2 separate regions of the Homo sapiens genome follow, and region 2 is linked to region 1. The links are contacts of gene promoters, found by promoter capture Hi-C in blood cells and fetal thymus (Javierre and others, 2016). All regions are on one chromosome and are shown on one strand. The core of a region is centred on a gene start or on the middle of the fragment in contact, and the rest is flanking DNA. Distances in the headings are between cores, read along the strand shown.

The links. Contacts are between HindIII fragments. The CHiCAGO score rates a contact against its expected background, and 5 or more counts as called.
Region 2: a fragment that was not itself captured here is called in contact with the fragment with the promoter of LMF2 in region 1 in 5 of 17 cell types (monocytes, M0 macrophages, fetal thymus and 2 more); the score reaches 6.9 in monocytes.

Annotation. Positions count from the first base shown.
Region 1 is chr22:50,505,631-50,512,114 of GRCh38, reverse strand. LMF2 (lipase maturation factor 2) reads left to right here and starts at 4,413. Exons shown (of 14, transcript NM_033200.3): 1 at 4,413-4,533; 2 at 5,080-5,333; 3 at 5,449-5,477; 4 at 5,613-5,830; 5 at 5,902-6,080; 6 at 6,300-6,441. The coding sequence starts at 4,440. NCAPH2 (non-SMC condensin II complex subunit H2) reads right to left here and starts at 3,891. Exons shown (of 20, transcript NM_152299.4): 1 at 3,670-3,891. The coding sequence starts at 3,777. RefSeq lists silencers at 3,353-3,642, 4,313-4,412 and an enhancer at 4,633-4,682. The HindIII fragment of the contact is 8,515 bases long and covers 2,254-6,484 here.
Region 2 is chr22:50,143,426-50,150,101 of GRCh38, reverse strand. MOV10L1 (Mov10 like RNA helicase 1) reads right to left here. Exons shown (of 27, transcript NM_018995.3): 18 at 5,859-6,005; 19 at 4,292-4,413; 20 at 388-487. Among named protein-coding and RNA genes, the nearest start is that of PANX2, 24 kb to the left of the region's middle. The HindIII fragment of the contact is 7,030 bases long and covers 1-6,676 here.

The DNA.
Region 1 (6,484 bases), core at 3,164-5,663:
ACAGGTAAATGAGTTGAAGAATGGCTTGTGGCCAGTCGCAGTGGCTCACACCTGCAATCCCAGCACTTTCAAAGGATGAGGTGGGCGGATCACGAGGTCAAGAGTTCAAGACCAGCCTGGCCAACATGGTGAAACCCCATCTCTACTAAAAATACAAAAATTAGCTGGGGCCAGGCACGGTGGCTCACACCTGTAATCCCAGCATTTTGGGAGGCCGAGGCGGGTGGATCACGAGGTCAGGAGACCAAGACCATCCTGGCTAACATGGTGAAACCCTGTCTCTACTGAAAAATACAAAAAAATTAGCCAGGCGTGGTGGCGGGCGCCTGTAATCCCAGCTACTGAGGAGGCTGAAGTAGGAGAATGGCGCGAACCCAGGAGATGGAGCTTGCAGTGAGCCGAGATTGTGCCACTGCACTCCAACTTGGGCCACAGGGCAAGACTCTGTCTCAAGAAAAAAAAAAAAATTAGCCAGGCGTGGTGGCAGGCGCCTGTAATCCCGGCTACTCAAGAGGCTGAGGCAGGATCGGACGCGGTGGCTCAGGCCTGTAATCCCAGCACTTTGGGAGGCCGAGGCGGGTGGATCATGAGGTCAGGAGATCGAGACCATCCTGGCTAACACGGTGAAACCCCGTCTCTACTAAAAAAATACAAAAAATTAGCCGGGCGTGGTGGCGGGTGCCAGTAGTCCCAGCTACTCGGGAGGCTGAGGCAGGAGAATGGTGTGAACCCAGGAGGTGGAGCTTGCAGTGAGCCGAGATTGCACCACTGCACTCCAGCCTGGGCGACAGAGTGAGACTCCGTCTCAAAAAAAAAAAAAAAAAAAAAAGAGGCTGAGGCAGGAGAACTGCTTGAACCCAGAAGGTGGAGGCTGCAGCAAGCTGAGATTGCACCACTGCACTCCAGCCTGGGTGACAGAGTGAGACTCCATCTCAAAAAAAAAACATATAAATAAATAAAATTTTTTTTGGCTGGGCGCGGTGGCTCATGCCTGTAATCCCAGCACTTTGGGACACCGACACGGGCGGATCACCAGGTCAGGAGATCGAGACCATCCTGGCTAACACGGTAAAACCCCGTCTCTACTAAAAATACAAAACATTAGCCGGGTGTGGTGGCAGGTGCCTGTAGTCCCAGCTACTCGGGAAGCTGAGGCAGGAAAATGGCGTGAACCCAGAAGGCAGAGCTTGCAGTGAGCTGAGATCATGCCACTGCACTCCAGCCTGGGCGACAGAGTAAGACTCCATCTCAAAAAAAAAAAAAATTTAAATGGTTTATGATAAACATTCTAAAGTGTGTAAGGTGCTGAGATGGAGAGGACTATTTTAGATAGGGTGGTCAGCTGACATTTACACTAAGACCTTAAGAATGAAAAGGACTCAGTCAGCCAGGCGTGGTGGCTCACGTCTGTAATCCCAGCACTTTGGAAAGAGGCAGAGCTGGCTGGATCACCTGAGGTCAGGAGTTTGAGACCAGCCTGGCCAATGTGGCGAAACCCATCTCTACTAAAAATACAAAAATTAACTGGACGTGGTGGTGCATGCCTGTAATCCCAGCTACTCGGGAGGCCAAGGCAGGAGAATTGCTTGAACCTGGGAGTCGGAGGTTGCAGTGAGCCAAGATTCTGCCATTGTACTCCAGCCCGGGCAACAGAGCAAGACTCCATCTCAAAAAAAGAAAAGAAAACAAACTCAGTCATTGAAAGAATATTCCCAGCCAGGTGTGGTGGTGCACAGCTATAGTCCCAGCTACCTGAGAAGCTGAGGCAGGAGGACTGCTTGAGCACAGCAGTTTGAGACCAGCCTGGGCAACACAGTAAGATCCTCCTCTCTGATTTTTTTTTTCTCCTTTTCCTTGCCATATGAAGTCCCTCTTTATTTAAAAACAAAAAAGAGGCCGGGCGCGGTGGCTCACGCCTGTAATCCCAGCACTTTGGGAGGCCAAGGCAGGCGGATCACGAGGTCAGGAGATCGAGACCATCCTGGCTAACACGGTGAAACCCTGTCTCTACTAAAATACAAAAAAATTAGTTGGGCGTGGAGGCGGGCGCCTGTAGTCCCAGCTACTGCAGAGGCTGAGGCAGAATGATGTGAACCCAGGAGGCGGAGCTTGCAGTGAGCTCAGATCGCGCCACTGCACTTCCGTCTCAGAGTGAGACTCCGTCTCAAAATATATAAATAAATAAATAAAAACAAAAAAGAAGATTCCCAAGTGGGGGCAGAAAGCATGAAGATCTTCCACCAAGAAAAAGCTTGGAGGGGCCATAGGTTGACTGGTTCAAAAGAACAAGATACAAAACAGCCCAAAATGAGGCTAAAATGGAGAGCAGAGCCAGGTTCAGAGAAGGAAATTTGGGTTTTATTCTGGGCATAATGGAAAGCCACTGAGGGGTTGATTTTAGGCAGAAAACAGTGCTGTGGCCAGATTTTAATTTTTAAGAGTCACACTTGCTGCTGGTTGGAGCACGAATTGGACGGGACAAAAACAGGGATAAGGGAACCCAAATAGGAAGGTTTTACACAAATCCAGGCCAGAGACAATGGTGGCCTAGACCAAATAAAATGGACAACAGATGAATTCAAGTGATATTCCGGTGGTATAACTGATGGAATTCATGGATGAACTGAGTGTTAAGCATGGGGCTTCACTATAGCCACATTTAGCTTTTGCTTTTGGTTGAACAGCGGTGTCATTTTCCGAGATGGGAAAAGCTGGGGTTTAAGCAGAAAAATGAAGAGTTCCACTTTAAATATGTTAAATGAGATGTTTGCGTGACACCCACTAGATGTCAAGAGAGCAGCTGGATATGTAAAGTAGATTTGGAGGAAAGATCTAGGATGGAGCTGCAGATCTGGTAGTTGTCCTAATACAGGCAATATTTAAAATCATAGAAATAAATGACACTTCAGGGTAAATGCATCAGAAGATGACCTAGGCCCCATCCTGAGGAACTCAACACTTAGAGACTGGATAGAAAAGAAAAATCAGGCAATGAAATAGGGAAAAAAAATCCTACCACCATGTTTCAAAAAGAAAGGAGTGGCCAGTCCAACAAATGCTGACTTATGTCCCTTGGATTTGGTAGAATGGAGATCACTGCTGATCAAGACAAGAAACATTTAAGTGTCGTGGACGCCAGACTGAGCTGGGCTGAGGAGTAAAAATGAAGCGCAAATATGGAGCAGACAGCTTAACACAGGTCTAGACAGGGCTGTCAAACATGGAAGAAACACTAATCGCTAACAGGATAGAGCATGGCAATAGCTTGAAATTGGTTTGAAAATCCAAGATAAAAAATTCCTCTGACATCGTGATCCAGACCTCTCAAACACACAAGCATGCTCGCAATAACTGCAATAAAAGCAATAATGCTTTCTAGTCTATTCCACTACGTTAGAGAAACGGCTGGTCACCACCCACTCAATCATTCACGGCTCGCTGACGGGTAGAAACCTGCAATGACAGGTCCACGCTAATCCAACAAGGGATGATTTGGGGAGGCAGAGATGGAGTTTGAAAAGAAGCAGGGAGCCCGAGGACCTGCGCGGCCAGAGCGCCAGATAGCCATAGGCGTGGAGACGGTGGGGCGCCCACAGCCCCGGGCCCGGAGCCCCCGCCCCGCAGCCCCACCCGCCGGCCCACCCCGCGTCACTCCCCCGCCGCCCTTACCTCCTCCAGATACTCGCCCAGCTGGGCCGCCACGTCCACCTCCCAGTTCTTGGTGAGGTCGCGGATGGGCTGCAAGAGGTGGGCGAAGCGCGCCTCCACGTCCTCCATGTCCGGGAGGGAACGGGCGGCAAAGGGACCGCAGGGCTGCCTTCCGAGGGGTACGGCGTCCTCAGCCCGCCACTAGTTCTGGCGCCATTTTGCTGTTCCCGCCCAGGAAAATGCGTAGGCGCGGCGTCGCGCGCATGTCTATGACGTAACGTGGGCAAAAGCCAGAGAGGCGAACCCCGGCGCCGCGCAGCGGGAGCTCACCGGAAGAGTCGCGGGGCGGGGTCGAAGCCTCCGGGAGGGGGGGGTGGGCGGAGCTTTGGGCTGCCACCAGTTTGGACGGGAGGGCTTTTGGGGCCGCCGTGGGTCGGGCGGGGCGGGGTGGGGCGGGGCCTGGAGCTGCCGCGGGCGAGCGGGCCGAGGAGGCGGGGCTTGGGGGCTGCCACGGGTTGGGGGGGCGGGGCGGTGAGGAGGCGGGGCCTGGGGCAGCCGCGGGCGGGCGGACGGGCCGAGGAGGCGGGGCTTGGGGCTGCCACGGGTTGGGCGGGCGGGGCGGTGAGGAGGCGGGGCCTGGGACTGCCGCGGGCGGGCGGGCGGGCCGAGGAGGCGGGGCTTGGGGCTGCCACGGATTGGGCGGGCGGGGCGGTGAGGAGGCGGGGCCTGGGGCTGCCGCGGGCGGGCGGACGCGGAGGGCGGGCCCTGCTCTAGCGGGCCGCGTAGCGGACATGGCGGGCTCCCGGCTCCCGCGGCAGCTCTTCCTCCAGGGCGTGGCGGCCGTCTTCATGTTTGCTTTCGCTTCCCTCTACACGCAAATCCCAGGTGAAGGCACCCAGGGTGGGACACCCCCAGCCTCGGCGCGGGACCCTATGTCCTCTTTTCTCTGTGCCCGGCACTCACGCAGTCCGGGGTTGGGAGTGAGGGCCAGGCCTTGGCGTGGGGTAGGGGGCGGCGGTTCGTGTCCTGCAGGCCGCTGTGGGGGTAGGAAGGTGTGCGGTGATCCATTTCCCGTAAGGCTCTGGACTCTGACCTGGGGTGGGGGACAGAACTCTGAGAGAGGTGGGAGAGAGGCTTCCTCCCAGACCTGGTGGGACAGGTAGGAGATCGGGCTGAGACCTGGAAGAGGGCAGTGGGCTCTGCTGGGTGGGAGGCCCTGACTCAGGTAGTTGAGCAGGCCTCTAGCCCTGGGACGGGGTTTTGACAGGTCCCGACCTGGGGGACGGGCTCTGGAGGGACTGCAGACTCTGACCTAGGGATGGAGGTATCCGCATGCTCTGACCTAGGCTGGGGGATCTGCAGGCCCTGACTCAGAGGTAGTCTAGTCTGCAAGGGCTGTCCAGGGCCTGGCCATGACATGCCCTCCCACAGGCCTGTATGGCCCCGAGGGCATCCTACCTGCAAGGAGGACGCTGCGGCCTCAGGGCAAGGGGCGCTGGCAGCAGCTGTGGGAGACCCCGACGCTGCTGTGGGAAGCGCCGAGACTGGGGCTGGACACGGCCCAGGGCCTGGAGCTGCTGAGCCTGCTGGGTGCACTAGTGGCCCTGGGAGCCCTGCTGCTGAGCCCACTGCGCCACCCTGTCATCTACTTGCTGCTTTGGGCCGCCTACCTGTCAGCCTGCCAGGCAAGTGGGACCTGTGACCAGCTCACTCTATCTCCAACCCCCACCACCCACCCCTGCCTCTACCTTACCTGAGTCCACAGACACACCCGCTCCCTGACAGCCCCTCTCTCCGCAGGTGGGCCAGGTGTTCCTTTATTTCCAGTGGTGAGTGACGGCTGGGCCTGGGGCTGTGGGAGGCTGGGTAGGGGGTGGGGGAGGGCTCTGCCCTTCCTGGGAGGACTTTCCGAGGGAAGCAGCTGTGTGGGGAGGGGCTCTTGGTGCTATTTGCTCTCCCCATAGGGACTCCCTGCTGCTAGAGACTGGCTTCCTGGCCGTGCTGGTGGCCCCGCTGAGGCCAGCCTCCCACCGCAAGGAGGCCCCCCAGGGCAGGCAGGCAGGGGCCCTGCCCCACGAAGACCTCCCCTTCTGGCTGGTGCGATGGCTGCTGTTCCGCCTCATGTTCGCCTCAGGCGTGGTCAAGCTGACCAGCCGCTGCCCTGCGTGGTGGGGGCTCACTGGTGAGGGGCCCGGTCTGGACCTGGGGTAGTCTGGGGGCTCGGCCAGCCCTGACTCCTGCCCTCGCCTGCAGCCCTCACCTACCACTACGAGACCCAGTGCCTGCCCACGCCCGCCGCCTGGTTCGCACACCACCTGCCGGTCTGGCTGCACAAGCTCAGCGTGGTGGCCACCTTCCTAATTGAGATCGCTGTGCCGCCCCTGTTCTTCGCCCCCATTCGACGCCTGCGCTTGGCTGCTTTCTACTCGCAGGTGGGTGAGGGCCGCAGCTGTCAGAGAGAGGCAGACAGGGCTCGGCCTTCAGCGCTGCTCAGCGTGCCCTGTTGGGGACAGCGTGGCTCCCGGGGACAGCTGGCAACCGCTGTTGGGAAGGCCTTGTAGCAGAGGGATGCACCCTGCAGGGTGGAGGTGGGTGCCTGCCACGGGGCCAGGCGTCAGTCTCCGGGAGCACTGAGAGCGGGCCGCCCCCAGGTGCTGCTGCAGGTCCTGATTATCATCACCGGCAACTACAACTTCTTCAACCTGATGACGCTGGTGCTTACCACTGCGCTGCTGGACGACCAGCACCTGGCTGCTGAGCCTGGCCACGGCAGCCGCAAGAAGACGGCCACCTGTGCGTGTCACTTGTCCAGCCCCCTGCCCTCCCAGGGGTTCTC
Region 2 (6,676 bases), core at 1,944-4,443, 360 kb after region 1:
AGAGAACAGAGGATGCACAGAGCTGGAGGCCAGGGCAGCCTGAGGGGCAAGTGGGTCAGATGCAGGAGCACTGGCCCTGTCCGCCCCTCCAGGCACTGAACGGCCGGCTCACCCAGAGCAGGGACCACATTCCTGACTTTACCGCTGTATCCCCAACACCTAGAATGGCTCTTACCTCCGTTTTACAAGTAAATGAGTCAAGACATTCACTTCTAGTCCAAAAGGAATAAAGTACAATAGAGACCCATGGCCCCCAACACCTCGGGGTCCTTGGCACTTCCACCTGACCCCTGTACAGCTGTGACTGTTCCCGGCAGGATCGCAGCCTGCATCCCCTCAGGAGAACGGGGTGAGGAGGAAGCAGCACACACAGTAGTCGGGACTTACCTGGCCACTGATGTCCGACATCAGCCCCAGAGGAATGAGGCATTCCGGCTCACTTGCCTGCCCAGCCTCGTCCACAAACACGTGAGTGAAGTGCCCAACTCTAGAGCAAAGATGTTCTAAATGGTAATTTCTGCCGAATTGTTTTAGCAATTGATGCCTCTGACACACTGGCAAAGCCACGCTCAGCACCCCGGGGGCACAGCAGGGTTGCCCAGGGGTGTGCAGGAGCTGGGGGTCTGGGTGTCACCCGGCTGGAGGGAGGACAGGCCACAGGTGTCAGGAGATGCTAAGCCACATCAGCACCCAGTGCTTTGCACGCAGCGTCTGTATTTCTAGAGATGTGGAGGGAAGAAGGGGTGGGAGCGATGGGCAACACACGAGCGCCTCCTGGGGGCAGCTCACAGGAGAAGCGCCGCAGGCTCCTGGCCTGCTCTCCACCTGCGTCTCACTCCTGTCATTATCAAAATGCCCAGGCTCTAGTCCTGACTTCCCCTCTCTGAGCCTCCACCTCCCACGTGTCTCTCGGGAGGTGGCTGAGGTGAGAGCAGCTGAACTGGCCGCTGTAAAGCGCTGAGAACAGGCCTGGCCATGCAGGCGGCCACAGATGGCAGCCTCTCCTGCCATCCGCTCATTTCCTCCTGACTCATCCTTGTGAGCCACTCTCAGCTGGGCACTGCCTGGCCTGCATGCCAATAGGCTGAGGCCCTGGGAGCCACTTCCCAATCTGCGGCACCATTAAGAAAATGGGGTTGGTCGGGCGCAGTGGCTCACGCCTGTAATGCCAGCACTTTGGGAGGCCGAGATGGGTGGATCACGAGGTCAGGAGATCAAGACCATCCTGGCTAACACGGTGAAACCCCGTCTCTACTCAAAATACAAAAAAATTAGCCGGGTGTGGTGGCGGGCGCCTGTAGTCCCAGCTACTCGGGAAGCTGAGGCAGGAGAATGGCGTGAACCTGGGAGGCGGAGCTTGCAGTGAGCTGAGATCGCGCCACTGCACTCCAGCTTGGGTGACAGAGCAAGACTCCATCTCATAAAAAAAAAAAAAAAAGAAAAAAAGAAAATGCGGTCTCTAGAATGGCTCCCCACAATTCTGGCCCCTGCTGCAAACTCAGTGAGGTTCCCAGCTACAGAGCAGCCCTCCTGGCGGGTACCTGTCCGGCTCTTCCTTCTCCGTGTGACAAGGGAGGTAAGGGAGGTGCAGGAGCAGAGAGTCCACAGCGTTGCTGATGGACGGGGTGGGGATTTTGCGGGAAGGAGTCGTCAGGAGAAGCTGCGGAACTCTTGCATGGGAAGGCTGTGGGACTGAGCGGAGAGCAGGAGCTCGCTCGGCACATGATCTGTTTCTAGAGTGCAGAGGGGCCACCCCACCTGGGGCCATGAGCTGAGGAACAGGTGCCCCGGCTTCCCTGGCTCGCCCACCCCAGCAGCTTCTGCTCTGTGGTCAGGAGGCCTCAGTGGGGAAATGCTCTTGGGGCAGAAACATGTCCTGATGCCTGAGGAAGCAGGTATGGGGCAGAGAGAGTGTCCGGAGCCACGCCAACACTCAACAGGACGCACCTTGGGCCCGCACCGTCCTCACTGCCGAGCCCACGTTTACCCTTCTCACTGCTGATTCCAGGATCTCCCCTCTCCAACCCTAGATGCTGGGCAAATCCATCACCTCTGAGCCTCAGGTGTCCCACTGTGGGGTGAGACCCTGTGGTCAGACCTGTGCGGGGGCGGGCTCCTGCTTACAGCAGTGCTGGGCCCAACATGTCCTGCATCCACTCACGGTCAGCTGACACCTTTCACTTCAGGTATCAATGTGTAACTCTCAAGACACGGATTTCACAAGTGACACCGTGAACCCCTCCCAGTGAAAGATGTGGAAATCAGCAAACTGCCATTTCCCCATCTCATGTCCCTATTTCTGTTGAAAAAAATTAACATTATGTATCTTTCCTAGAATGTAAGTATTTAGGTTTCAATTCTGTATTAATTGCAGTTATTTAATGTCACTTTTGCCAGATGACATTGCTACTTCTTTGCCCTTTGAAGTGCCCCTCCCCACTCCAGCCGCCCCCAGTGGCCAACTAACGCTGTGGGGCCTCTGCAGCTGGGCTGCAGCACCCTCCCTGCTTCTGCACAGAGCGCCTCTGAGAGAGCGGCCTGCAGCACCCTCCCTGCTTCTGCACAGAGCGCCTCTGAGAGAGCGGCCTGCAGCACCCTCCCTGCTTCTGCACAGAGCGCCTCTGAGAGAGCGGCCTGCAGCACCCTCCCTGCTTCTGCACAGAGCGCCTCTGAGAGAGCGGCCTGCAGCACCCTCCCTGCTTCTGCACAGAGCGCCTCTGAGAGAGCGGCCTGCAGCACCCTCCCTGCTTCTGCACAGAGCGCCTCTGAGAGAGCGGCCTGCAGCACCCTCCCTGCTTCTGCACAGAGCGCCTCTGAGAGAGCGGCCTGCAGCACCCTCCCTGCTTCTGCACAGAGCGCCTCTGAGAGAGCGGCCTGCAGCACCCTCCCTGCTTCTGCACAGAGTGCCTCTGAGAGAGCGGCCTGCCCTGGCCGGCCACCTCCTCCCACTACCTGAACATCAGCTCCAGGGTGCAGGGTCCATGCAGTGCCCGCTCTGCCCCCAAAGAGCCCTCTGCACCCCAGTGAGGACTGGCTCTTCGGCTCTTGACCTTTGACTCATCAACACACATTAACAAAAAAAATCCCTGTCTTGTTCAGATCCGTGCTGTCCAATCCGGTAGCCACACACGGCTCTCGGGCACCGCACAGTGGCTAGTCTGAAACCTGACATGCTCTAAGTGTAAAATACATGGTGGATTTTGAAGACTTGAACCAAAAAAAATGTAAAGTGTCTCATCAATCACGTTCTACTAATCTCATGATGAAAGGACATCATGTATGTGAGAGAGTTAAACGCGCCGATGAAACCATCCGTGACACGCTGTGATAGGCGTGGCTGGCTGTGCCTTTGCTCCATGTGGAGCTGACGGACCACCTCCTGTGGTCACCCTCACGACCACCGTGACGCTGGACACTGTCCAGGGTGACCTGTCTCCAGGCTGTCAGGGAGGGTCACGACCACTGTGACGCTGGACACTGTTCAGAGCGACCTGTCTCCAGGCCGTCAGGGAGGGTGGGGCTTCCCTCAGAGGCCCTGGCTTCTCCCTCTCTCACCCTCAGCCTGTGCCCCCGACACTGTCTGGCTCTATGCACTGAGAGGGAGCTGCCTGCTGCCTCCCCGACCCCACCCCCCTGCACTGGGGTCTGAGAGTGCCTTGGTCCTCACTCAGCCTCCCTGGGCTCGAAGCTCTTCCTCCCAGCCCCCAGGGGAGGTCCTCCTATGACAGCCGGCACCCCACAATCCATCTCCTCCGCCTGTCTCCCCTGAAGAGCCCCCAGCGCCAGGGACACAAATGGCCCCCAGGGTCTGACCTTACAGAGCCCAGCCGTTTCCTAGGCAGCCTGCCTCCCCACGCCCACTCCAAGAGACTCACTCTCCTGCTCAGAAGCCCTTCACTGGCTTCCCGGCTCACCAGAGGTCGTCCAAAGGCCCCTCCACAGCCCGCCAGGCCTCCCCCTCACCACCCCTTTCAGGCCGTTCCTGCTCACGAGGCTCTGGCTCTACAGTCTCCTTTGGGGAGACCTCAGTGCTCCCCCACCGCGGGGCCTCTGCATGGGCCAGTCCATCTGCCTGCCCATCCCACTGCTGGCTCCTTCGAGTCCTTGGGGTCTCGGCTTCCCCAGCTCCATTCAGGCACGGCCCTCCCCAACCAGCCTTTCTCGCCCACAGCCCTGCCTCCCTCCCTGAGCACTGAGTCTCTGGGTCATCCGCCCCTCAGACAGAAGCTAGGAGAGGACTCCGACCTCTGCCCTGGGAGGCCCCATGCCGCGCTCCATGCCCGGGGCTCACCTCACTCCTATTTGGTAAAACAGCCCTGAGCTGCTGCATGTGGTGATGATTATCCGGAAGCGTGAGGCTTTCCAGATGTCTTCTCCGTCTCTGCAATACGGTTTGACGGCGTCAATAACTATCTGGGGGCAAGGAGGCGTAGAGTTAGTTTACTCCTCCAATTATTAAGCAGAATTCCAAAAGGGAACCTTGCCCTGGTACCACTTCTTAGTTACGTCTAAGTCATGATTTAAGGTTTTTTTCTCAAAATATCTCATACTTCCTTATCAATTCAGTCCATGTTTTATCAACTCTAGAGCCACAAATATAACACATAATCCTGCAGACCCTTCCCCAAAACAACTTTGTACATTTTCTATTCAGTTTGTTTGTTTGTTTATTTAGAGAGGGAGTCTTGCTCTTGCTCTGTCGCCCAGGCTGGAGTGCAATGGTGCAATCTCGGCTCACTGCAACCTCTGCCTCCCAGGTTCAAGTGATTCTCCTGCTTCGGCCTCCGGAGTAGCTGGGATTACAGGCGCATGCCACCACGCCCAGCTATTTTCAATGTCTTTTTTAAACGCAATATTTCAGGCTGGGCACAGTGGCTAAAGCCTGTAATCTCAACACTTTGGGAGGCAGAGGCGGGTGGATCACTTGAGATCAGGAGTTCGTGACCAGCCTGACCAACATGGTGAAACCCTGTCTCTACTAAAAATACAAAATTAGCTGGATGTGGTGGCACACACCTGTAATCCTAGGTACTTAGGAGGCTGAGGCAGGAGAATTGCTTGAACCCGGGAGGCGGAGGTTGCAGTTAGCCAAGATCACACCACTGCACTCCAGCCTGGGCAACAAGAGCAAAAACTCTGTCTCAAACAAACAAAAAAATAAAAGCAATACTTCGCTCTATAACCAAACCAGCAACTTAAAGGAATACTTAAAACCAAACCAGGCCGGGCACGGTGGCTCACGCCTGTAATCCCAGCACTTTGGGAGGCCGAGGCGGGCAGATCATGAGGTCAGGAGATCGAGACCATCCTGGCTAACACGGTGAAACTCCGTCTCTACTAAAAATACAAAAAATTAGCCGGGCGCAGTGGCGGGTGCCTGTAGTCCCAGCTACTTGGGAGGCTGAGGCCAGAGAATGGTGTGAACCTGGGAGGCGGAGCTTGCAGTGAGCCGAGATCATGCCACTGCACTTCAGCCTGGGCGACACAGCGAGACTCCGTCTCAAAAAAAAAAAACAAAACAAAACAAAAAACACCAAACCAACAAAACAAAACTACTTAAAAAGTAACAAGACGTTTGGGGATTAAATAAAAGAGGAATGTGATAATTTTACAATGCTACGAATGCCCACAATAGGTGTGATAACTCACACAGAGTGAGAATGTGATGAAATAGTCAGCAATCAAGCTCCACCATTTAGCGGTGAGGGAGGGCCCATGGCAGAGCCATTTCTCAAACACAGCTTTCTGTGGCGCCTCTGTGCCCACCCTCCTACCCCTGCCCTCCCCTGTCCACTTGGCATTTCCTATGTTCCAGGGAGGGGTTCTGGTGCCCCCCACTGCTTGCACCAAGGGCTCACCTCCTCGAACCTGCAGGTGGCGTTCACCCGGACCATGGTGGCCGGCTGTAGCACCTTGCTCTCGTGCAGCCGCAGACACACGAGGTCAGCAGCACTGTTGGAGGGCGCACAGACTAAAATCCGACTGTCCGGCAAGGCAAAGTGTACCTTCATCAAAGACACACAAGAGACCAAGGCTCAACATCCACACCGCAAGGTGGAAACCAGGAGTCTAACCTCAACACACACATTCGGGTGCAGGGACTCAGCTGCATGGGCTCAGATGCCAGCCCCCAACACACTGAGACCTGGGCCACGACTCTGCCTCATCACACTGCTGCCAAAGCATGGGTTAGGTGGGAAGGTTCTCCGCACTCTCTAAGATTCTAAACCACCTTTCAGGGCAGAAACAGAGTCAGATTCATCTGCACACATCTGGCGTGTGGTACAATTGTGCGCTCAATACCTGTTTGCTAATTTGAATCCTGAATGACGCTAAATGTAGATGGTCTTCGGCTTATGATGGTTTGACTTAACGCTTTTTTGACTTTATGATGGTGTGAAGACCATCCCCAGTCAGTCTGCTCCTCACCTGACAAGGGATCATGCCTTGATGAACCTGAAACAGGCTTCCCAAATCCCATTACGATGGGTTATTGGGTTGTAACCCCATCAAAAGTTAAGAAGCATCTGTAGACAATAGTTTCATAAACTTAACTTCAATTACAAATGAAGATATCTAAAACTTCTGTGGAATGGTGGCTGTAGCTACTATAAGAGTAACTTCTTTTCTGCAGCAAAATGTCATGATTCAGATAAAATAGTTTACCAGGCTAAAA